2 separate regions of the Homo sapiens genome follow, and region 1 is linked to region 2. The links are contacts of gene promoters, found by promoter capture Hi-C in human tissues and cell types (Jung and others, 2019). All regions are on one chromosome and are shown on one strand. Each heading gives the region's core, a stretch centred on a gene start or on the middle of the fragment in contact. The rest is flanking DNA. Distances are from core to core; before and after follow the strand shown. Region 1 has its middle 32 kb from the start of OR8B8. Region 2 holds the start of PANX3 (pannexin 3).

Evidence for each region. The method cuts DNA at HindIII sites, captures the fragments that hold promoters and counts their contacts. A contact is called where the count stands out against the background at its distance.
Region 1: a contact is called between a fragment that was not itself captured here and the fragment with the promoter of PANX3 in region 2, in 1 of the 25 tissues and cell types used here (H1 embryonic stem cells).

The regions. Positions count from the first base shown.
Region 1 is chr11:124,475,286-124,480,732 of GRCh38, reverse strand. No RefSeq gene overlaps it. Among named protein-coding and RNA genes, the nearest start is that of OR8B8, 32 kb to the right of the region's middle. The HindIII fragment of the contact is 5,845 bases long and covers 1-4,407 here.
Region 2 is chr11:124,607,374-124,612,703 of GRCh38, reverse strand. PANX3 (pannexin 3) reads right to left here and starts at 1,276. Exons shown (of 4, transcript NM_052959.3): 1 at 967-1,276. The coding sequence starts at 1,147. The HindIII fragment of the contact is 5,182 bases long and covers 39-5,220 here.

The DNA of each region.
Region 1 (5,447 bases), core at 236-2,735, 130 kb after region 2:
TCACACTCAAAAATATTTTGTAGGCTGCCAAAGGACACACATGTACCTGATGCCAGAGCTGAAACTAGAGTCCAGGCTCTTGAATTTTAATACAATCTGCTGTGTTTTTCTTCAGCTACACTTCCTTGTTCCATCGTTTCCCTGACTGATTTCATTTAAAATTTTTTTTTTTGCATTTAAAGATATCTAATTATATTCATAGTGATGTCATGCAACTTTTCAAAGGTTAATTTTTGGAATAACATTTTTGCAAGAGTGTTGGAAGTGAAAAATGTGGTTGATGTGGTCTTGACAAAAAGATAAGAGAAAATTTTAAAGAATTTTGGGGTGTGTGAGTGAGAAGTAGATTAGGTTCCTTATAGAATCAAGGATGGTGCCCATGGAGATGGTATAGAGCCTTGAGTGAAGGCTTACAATAGAAGGCCTTCTAAGGGAGAGATAAACAGAGTTGAGGGAGTTAAATTTGTTAGATACAAGCTTTATTCTTCATCTGAAGATTAACGGAGACAGAATTTGGAGCCTCACCTCAAAGGTCTGAATAATGTAAATTAGTAATAGACAGCTCTGGATAAGTGAGCCATTAGAACCACGGCAGCCAACTAGTTGTTAGGGGAGGCAATTGCCATTATATAGTTAAGACATTGCATATATCTGTGACCTTCTATTAATAACAATAGGGCATAAAGGGAAGGGACGGTGGTCTTAGGAGAGGTCATATATTCACAGCATTGGGTAAGTGGAAGTACAACTTTGTATAACGAATGAGAGTAATTTTTTTGATCTGAATACATTAGTAATGGTAACAATTATTTCAGAAGTCATGGCATATGAACTGTCTGGAAGATAGTTTAATTTACAAACTTTGAAAAGTTATCTTCTATTAGAAAAAGGGGAAGTTCGGATTAATGTTTAGCTTTCTTCCTTTGGAATCTTTTGGTTTAACGAGGATAGAATTCAGGAAATGAAAGTGTAGGGGAGGGTTGTGTTTTGATGCTAAGGGAGATGAATGATGATGAAATTCAAGACACATGGATTGAGGGTGCACTGGGAATGGTGGAGAATCAGTACAATGAAAACACCCTACTCCTTCTTAAATTGAAATATAAATTTTACAGTGAAGTGCACAAACATTAACTGCTCGATGATTTTTTTTCACATTTATAAGGCTATGATTACTTACCTCCACCCAAATGAAAATATAGCAGATTTTTTATCATTTCAGGGTACTCCTGCCTGCCCTTTCCCAGTAATTACTACTCCCCATGCTCTTCCTGGAAATATTCACTATTCTTACTTTATCATCACAGTTTCATTTTTCTCGTGCTTGAACTTCATATAAATGTTAAATAGTGCATTTACTTTCTTACGTTTCACTTAACATAGAGAGTCATGTGAGATTCATCCATAACAGTTTTCTTGGTTATTGCTGTTTATTTTAGTATTCCATTGTAAGAATGTAGAGCAATTTGCTTATCAATATCTTCTTTATGGACATTTGCCTTGTTTTCAATTTCTACATGTTATTAATAAAGCTGTTATAAACATTCCTTTTTTTTTTTTTTTGAGACATAGTCTCGCACTGTTGCCCAGGCTGGAGTGCAATGGCACGATCTCGGCTCACTGCAACCTCCACTTCCCGGGTTCAAATCATTCTCCTGCCTCAGCCTCCAAAGTAGGTGGGATTACAGGCACCCACCACCACACACAGCCAATTTGTGTATTTTTAGTAGAGACAGGGTTTCACCATGTTGCCCAGGCTGGCCTCCAACTTCTGACCTCGTGATCTGTCTGCTTCGGCCTCCCAAAGTGCTGGGATTACAGGCATAAGCCACCATGCCTGGCCTATAAACATTCTTGAACATGTATTTTGCTGGAAATATACACTTATTTTTGTTTGGGTATATACCTAGATGTAGATTTTATGGGTCACAAGGTAGGCATATGTTTAGGCTTCTAAATGCTATCAAATTGTCTTCCAAAATATTTAAACTGATTTGCACTCCCATCAATAAATTCCAGAAAAGGATACTCTTCATCCTTATTTTCAGTATTTTTCATTTTAATTACTCCGTTGGGTGTGTAGTACAGTATTGCTTTAGTCTTTTAGATATTTCCCTGATAAATAATGATTTTTTTTTTTTTGACGGAGTCTTGCTCTGTCGCCTAGGCTGGAGTGCAGTGGCATGATCTCGGCTCACAGCAACCTTCACCTTCCAGGTTCAAGCAATTCTCCTGCCTTAGCCTCCCGAGTAGCTGGGGTAACAGGAGCCTGCCACCACACCTGGCTAATTTTTGTAGTTTTACTAGAGACGGGGTTTCACTATGTTGGCCAGGCTGGCCTCGAACTCCTGACCTTTTCTTAACAGACAAAGTCTTGCTCTGTTGTCAGGCTGGAGTGCGATGGTGTGATCATGGCTCACTGGAGCTTTGAACTCCTGGGCTCAAGCTATCTTCCTGTCTCAGCCTGCTGAGCAACTGGAACTATAGGTACATGCCACCACACCTGGCCACTTTTTCTATTTTTTGTAGAGATGAGGTCTCACTATGTTACCCAGGCTGTTACCAAATACCTGGGCTCAAGTGATCCTCTCATCTTGGCCTCCCAAAGTGTTGGGATTACAGGTGTGAGCCACCACACCCAGCCTTGTTGGGCACTTTTTATATGTTCATTAGCTATTTGGACATCACCATTTGTGAAGTGCCTGTTCAAGTCATTTGGCTACTTAAAAATAGTGTTGTTGCTGGGCACGGTGGCTCACACCTGTAATCCCAGCACTTTGGGAGGCCAAGATAGGCGGATCAAGAGGTCAGGAGATCGAGACCATCCTGGCTAATATGATGAAACCCCGTCTCTACTAAAAATACAAAAAAATTAGCCTGGTGTGGTGGTGGGCACCTGTAGTCCCAGCTACTTGGGAGGCTGAGGCAGGAGAATGGCATGAACCCAGAAGGCGGAGGTTGCAGTGAGCCGAGATCGCGCCACTGCACTCCAGCCTGGGCGACAGAGTGAGACTCCATCTCAAAAAAAAAAAAAAAAAGTGTTGTTATTCTTTTTTCTTATTGATTAGTTTTTTAAAACGTATAATCTGGATATGAGTACTTTTTCAGACACACACATTGCAGTTATCTTTACTCAGTCTCTGGCTTGCCCCATGACTACTCATTAATTATGTCCTTTGATAATGATATTTCAATTTCAATTTGAATAAAGTTCATTTGTCCACTTCTTTTACTGTTCATGCTTTCTTCTGTTTAATTTTTTTCCTACTACATAGTCACAAAGTCATTCTCAGGTTTTCCTTTGAAAGCTTCATGATTTTTCCTTTAAAATTTAGATTTTAGATCAATTTTAAATCAGTTATCATGTATGGTGTGCAGTTGTTTTATTTCTTTCATAAAGATATTAAGTTGCATCAGCATCATTTATTGAAAAGACCTTCTCTCCTCCCTGAATTGTATTGGCTATATTTGTACGTGTGTATTTGAAGATCAAGTGACAATAATTTAGTGGGACTAATTTGAGAGAAGTTGACATGGAGCCAAAGTGCTGTATTCTCCCATTACAATGGTGAATAGTAATGAGGAAAACAGACATGCTTTTCTTGTTTCGAAGTGGAATTTCATACCTTTCATACCTTTTACTTTATTTTAAATAACTTTTTAAAATTTAATTTTCAATTATTAGTAGTATGTAGTAGCACAGTTGTTTTTTGTATACTGAATTTGTATCTAGCATCTTTGTTATTTCACTTATGAAATCTAATTGTTAGCTAAACTCGACAAAAGAGAAACTAAGAATTTGTACTTTGTTTTTTCTGTATATACTCATGTAATCTGCAAATAAAGACAGGTTTGATTCTTCCTTAATGGTCTTTATACCTTTTATCTATTTTATTTTTTTCAGTGTCCTGTCTAAGACTTCCAATACAATGATTAATAGAGATGAGAATGGATGACCCTGTCTTGTTTCTGACCTTAGGGTAAAGGCATTAAGGCTTTCACTGTTGAATAAGATGTTTGCTGTAGGATTTGTTTTCTTCTGCAGATGGCAGTAATTAGATTATGGGTGGGTGATTAACAGCTTCCACTTAAGAAGGAATACATTTTTCTTGAGAATACATGTCATGGTAAAAAATTAAACAGTACAAAAAAGTATACAGTAGAAATAAGGTTTCCTTTCACATCAGTTCACCCATGCTTATGTTCTTCCTCCTGGATGCAACTATTCCCAGAAATAGAATAGGTATACACAAGCATATCTCTGTACCTTCTATCTATCTACCTACATATTTATGTATCTAGAGACCCTTTTTTGTTTTGAAATTTAATAAAAGGGGATTTAGGGATGTATCTTCCAATGGAAATGACTTAAAGAGGAGGGAGCATAGGATATTATTAGGCAACAAGAAGAGAAATCAAACACAGAAGAGGCATGGGTTAGAGAATGAACAGGACAGAAGAGGATAGAGGAGAGGAGAGGAAGCAACACAGATAACCCATGGTAATTTCAACTCTGGCAACATTTTGGTTTCTTCTGATTTTCCACCTCCACCCCGTGATTTGATCACCTGTATCTTTGCTTGATTGTTGCTGTCCCGGAGGAAGAGACATTGAGCTCTTAAGATACCAAAATGGCAAACATTTTCAATTCAACAAACACTTATGTATTAACTTACATATCTGTTTTAAAAAATAAGAGATGGTTTGAGCTCAGAGAGGTTGGAAGTTATAACTCTTATCCTCACAAGTAAAAAGCCAAACAAACTCAAAATCAACCACTTTTCTTAGAGCCATCAGAGAATTGAGGTCACAGAACAAACTGACTCCCTGAAAACTGCAGGAAGAAGTGAGAAGAGAATAACTGCTTATCCAGAGCAGAAGCTACTGGAGTTAGTATGCATGTGTGTACATATCTATATGAACACAGAACACTTGAGAGGTAGTTGATGAATTGCTGGAGTCTGAGTGTGGACCAGCTTGAAAGGTAAAAACTCCAGGGAACCCAGTCTTGGTGGGGGAGTCCCCATACTGTTGGGAGTTCTACCTCCAGGAGACCCACCGGGTTTTCATGGTGAAGATCAGAGTCTAGTTCCACTAGTGTTGGACAGGGAGAGGGGAAAAGGAACCATTTCAAAATACACTCAGAGCTTTTTGTTCTCACTTAACCTCCCAGAAAACCATACTTCAGTCTACACAATATTGGGGAAGTGAAATTCCTAACTTCAGTCCCCTCCCGCTCCCTCTAGTCTGTCTCACCTAAGGAGTAGAAAGAGCTGAGAAGCACTTGTGAAGGTCACAGCCCCAGGGAATAGGCCAACAAAAAGGCCGAGACTTAATCACAGCAATAGAGAATGTTTTGTCTCCCACCCACACTTTACTATCACATCCATTAATCTCCTGTATAAAAACAGGGGGTTAAAGCACAGCTCAGACTCTGTTTAAGAGAG
Region 2 (5,330 bases), core at 27-2,526:
TAGTCTGGTACCAGAAGGCTTGCGGTTTGATGGTGATGTCTCTTTCCTGAAATAACTGACATCCTTTAGACTCTAAAATGTTGAGGATGAATTGCCTGGGCTTCCGAGCCTAAATGAAGAGAAAGGGTGGGCAAATTATGCCGAAAGGAAAGTGGACTTGGAGGAGAGTTCCTGCCTTTTTGTTTTCACATCATTCTCCAGAAAGAGGAAGAAGTGGGAGCCATTTCTTCTGCCCTGGTTGTGGATGAATAAAGAGGCGGTGGGAGGCTGGCACACCTGTTTGGGAAATGTAGTAAGCTAATGGCACTGCCAGAAAGGAAAGCCAGAAGTCTCAGTTCTCAGGAAGTCCACATTCTCTTTAACAAAGGTAGTGGATTTGCTGACTGAATCTAGCACCTGAAACCCTAGATGTATGTGTATGCTAATGTCTGTGTGTGCGGCTGGGGTTTGTAGACAGGAAGCAGTGGGTTTATGCAGCATCTCCAATGTGCATGGCCCTCAGGCACTTAACACATGTTCTCAAGTCAATAACCCTGGAGTTGGCGGGTTAGGGGTGGGAAGAGGGCCCAGAGCAAATAAGAGACTTGGCGACAGCCCAGCTAAGATGAAGAGGTCTAAGGCCCTAAAAACATTACCAGGAGTGTCAACTTCTTTCATCCATAATGAAAGCCAAAATAAAGCTTTCATCATTTGAAATGACATAAAATATATGAATACTAAAATTACAACAATTTTTTTTTTTTTTTTTTTTTTTACTGTAACATTTTGGAGATGACTTTCAAAATTTTTTGGTGCCTCTGCTTTGCTGGTGCCCTGAACTCATGCACCATCTGCCTTTTGGATAATCCAGCCCAGCCCGAAGCCATGGAATCCCGTCACTGTGCGCACCATCTCACTTCAGAGCCCATGCAGAGAGTGACATGAGGGGGAGTCTCTCTTGCGCACTGGGTCTTGGAAGCAACTTACCAGAGGAGAACTCCTGGGCGAATGCCAGGGACATCAGCAACAAGGGGGAGCCCACAGCTACGAACTTGACTATCCGGTCCAGGGGCAGTTCCAGACGCAGTCCTTTGAGGCGGGGTCCCCTGCGGTCAGGCAGCAGGGCATCTGAGAGCATGTACTCTGCAGCTGTGTGTGCAAGTGACATGATGCTGCTGAGCTTGGGGGTGCAGAGGTGGCAGCAGGGGTCCTGGGATGGTGGAATGAGGAGACGGCAGCTTCAGGCAGCTGACTTTGGGCAGACAGTGCCTGCCACCCCAGCCTTATGGATATCTCTGCTGGGAGCAGGCGATGGTTCTCTAAATAACTGCCCAGGCCCTGAGCCAGGCCCTGCTAATTAGAGGGAGGCATAGCCTTAGCGGGTCCTTGCTGGAGGAGGGTCGGGCCTTACCTGGGCCTGGTGCCACGCTGCTGTCTGGATTGTCCTAGAGCAGATGGAGGTCTGTGGCTTTATGCTGCCCTGTCATTGATAAAGTATTTTCAGTGGAGAGAAGGAGGGCTGTGGAGCCAGGACCCCCCTCCATGTAATTTGTGTGGAATTTGGGTGAGGATTGCTTAAATGTTTTGAAGGCACTCATTTTGTGGTTTGGAGTGGGAATGGAGTCCCCACGACCCAGCTGGGATTGCTACCCTACATAGTAGTCTTTGTCCCAGTGATGATTTTTGCTCTGGGCCCAGACTCTTTCCCAGAACTTTTCTGTATTTGGTGTTAGATTTCCTTCCCTGACTATGGTCTTTTTTCCAAAATGTTTCAACTACATATTTACAATTTCCAATTCCTTTTTAGCCCTTGGGTTCTTTACAAAGCTGGGGGATGCATGGCAGTGTTGAGTCATGGAAAGAGTACAACCTTTGAAATTCGGAGGAGAAACTCCTCCACTGGAGACCTAGGAGTACTCAGGTTTTAACTGTGTGACTTCAGGCAAGTCACTTTTAGCTCAGTTTCCCCATCTCTCAAATTGTGATATGTAACAAGCTTACAAGACTGTGGGGATTGATTAAGAGTATTGTTTGTGAAGGTGCTTTGTAAACCGTAAAGTGTAGCAGAAGTGTCAGCTCTTATTTCAATTTGGTGGGGGTGGGTAAGTGGAGAATAGGGCACTCTTGTCTCTAGTGTTGCCCTTAAACTGGCAATAGAGGCTCTTAACCTTATCCTCTTTGGTTGTGTCCTTCTCATGAGGCAAGGAGTACGTGGGCCCAAGGGGATGTGTCCATTCAGAGTCTGTGCACCCAGCTAGAAACCACTCTCTAAGGCCCTGCCCAAATGGCCTCAGCCTGCTTCCCAGACCTGTGTGGGCCTTTTTTTCAGGGGCAACTGCCCAAGGGAAGATTGTGCTGCTGGTGTGCACTTCTAGGCCCAAGGAATGGCTGGTTGTCAGGGTTTGGATGCAATTTATAAATCTTGGGGTGTCCACACATGCAATTCTGAGGTTTTTTGCAATGTGGGTGTTAGCTGAGTTGGGAAGAGAAGATTGGGCCAGGGGCTTGGGAGAGTCTGAGGATTCTAAATTTGAATCTGGCATTCCTGATCATTATGAAGCTGGGGTGTGTTTGTCTATATATGTCTAGGTGAGCAAGAATAACATATTTTATTTAACAGTTTGTTAACTTGGTTTATAACTTTTAATATTTTAGATATATGGTATGTGGATCTGTATTTGAACTTTTTTCTCCTAGGCCACAAATGTTTGGGCTGGGCTTACCTCTCTCCCCATCCCACAGGCTAGAGGCCAACTTGGATTCAGAGCTGCCCCGCGTGGGCTAACTGGCGTGTATGGGTCATGGGGCAGCAGAAGGGACCCTTTATTTCTATTCCCCATTACCCTCCCCACACCACATTTCTGTATCTTTTAATTAGGCATGTTTTTGCCAAATGTTTATTATTAGTTTGTATGCATGCATATCCTTTTACTTTTTAAAAATACATTTTTATTGAGAAATAATGTACACACCTTAGTATTGTGTACGGTGCACACAACTTGGGTGACGGGTACACTAAAATCTCAGACCTCACCACTATGCAGTTTATCCGTGTAACCAAAAACGATTTGTACCCCAAAAGCGATTGAAATAAAAAATTAAAAAGACCAAAAAACGAGAGAAAAATTCACATACCATAAGGATGCAGTTTAATAAATACTCGTCTGATCAAGAAACAGAACATTACGAGCACCCCAGAAACCACCTCTGTGCTCCTCTCTTCCAGCTTTTCCAAACGGTAAGCATTATATAAACTTCTAATTGATTAGTTTTGCTTTTTTATACATTATGAAAATGGAATCTTGTGTATTTACTCTTTTGTGTCTGGCTTCTTTTGCTCCACATCATATTTATGAGAATCATCCATTTCATTGCCTGTTTTTGTACTTTATGTAAATGGAATCATGTGCATGTGTTTATGTGTCTGGATTCTCTGCTCAACATATTTTTGAGATTCACCATGTTGCATGTACCAGAAATGCGTTTCCTCTGTGTAGATATATAACAATTTGTTTATCCATTCATAAGCTGACAGATATTTGAGTTTTCAGGTTCTGGATGTTATGAGATACTGTTGCTGTGAACATCCTAATATGTGTCTCCTGGTGAATATATGTATGCACTTATGTTGGGTACATATTGAGGGGTGGGATTGCTAGGTCATAATGCTATGCATATGTTTATCTCTATAGTTTTTCAAGAGGTTGTTTCAGTTTACACTTTCACCAACAGCTTATGAAAATCCTAGTTGCTGCACATCCTTGACATTACACTTTTGGAATTAAAATTTTTTTTAAGCCATTTTGGAAGGTGTATAGTAGTAATGCAATGTGGTTTTAACTTGAATATCTCTGTTGACTAATGAAGTTGGCTACTTCGGCCATTTGGATATCTTCTTTTGTGGATGGATGTGGGTGTACGTCTGAGTCTTTTGCCTGTTTTTCTGTTGGGTTGTCTGTCTTTTGCTTATTGATTTGTAGTACTCTTTCAAATATTCTGGATGTGAGACCATTGCTAGCAATATGTTTTATTTATATCTTCTTCCACTCCACTTGTTGCCTTTTCATTCTCTTAATGGTGTCTTTTGATGACCAGAATTTCTAATTTTAATACAGTCAATGTATCATTTTTTTCTATGGATAGTGCTATATGTATTCTGTTTAAGAAGCAATTGGTTATTAATTACAATACCATGAAAAATGTTTCCTAGGTGTTCTCCAAAATATTTTTGTTTTATCTTTCTCATTTGGGTCTGCAGTTCATCTATAATTTTTTTTAACATATGGTATGAGATATGAGTCAAGAAATATTATTTTCCATATGGCTATCCAGCTGACTCAGCACAATTTATTGTAAGACCTTTCCTTTCTCATTGCAGTGCAGTGTTGTCATGGTCATAAATCAGGTGACTGTGTTCCAGCTGACAATGTCTTTTTTTTTTTTTTTTTTTTTTTGCCAACACTACAATATCTTAGCTAGTATAGCTTTATAGTAGGTCTTGGCACCTGTAGTGTAGATCTTCCAGTTTTATTGTTCTTCAGGATTGCTCTGGCTATTTTGGATCTTTTGCATTTCTACATGAATTTTACCATCAGTTTTTGAATTTCAGCAGGAAAGAAACCTGCTGGAATTTTTGATTGTGACTTTAATTTACAGCTTAATTTGGGAAAAATTGCCTTCTTTACAGCATTTAGTCTTCAAATCTATGAACATGGCATATCCCTCCATTTGCTTAAGACTTCTTTCTGAGGCCGGGTGCAGTGGCTCACACCTGTAATCCCAGCACTTTGGGAGGCCAAGGTGGGTGAATCACCTGAGGTCAGGAGTTCGAGACCAGCCTGGCCAACATGATGACAACCCATTTCTAGTAAAAATACGAAAAATTAGCTGGACGTGGAGACAGGTACCTGTAATCCCAGCTACTCGGGAGGCTGAGGCAGAAGAATCACTTGAACCCGGGAGGTGGAGGTTGCATGAGCCGAGATCGTGCCACTGCACTCCAGCCTGGGCAACAAAAGTGAAACTCTGTCTCAAAGAAAAAAAAAAAAAAGACGTCTTTCTGTCCGTAGCAACTTTTGGTTTTAAGTGCAGATGTCTTACACATCTATTGTTGGATTTATTCCTAGGTGTTTGATGTTTCTTGATGCTATTGTTAACCATATATTTTTTAAAAAATTGATTTTCTAATTGTTTGTTGCTCACATATGAAAATACAACTGATTTTTGTACACTGATCTTGTATACGTCAATCTTATTGAATTCATTTATTGATTCTAATAGTTTGTAGATTAATTCAGATTTTTAAAAATCTATACAACCATATCATTTATGAAAAATCACAGCTTTCTTTC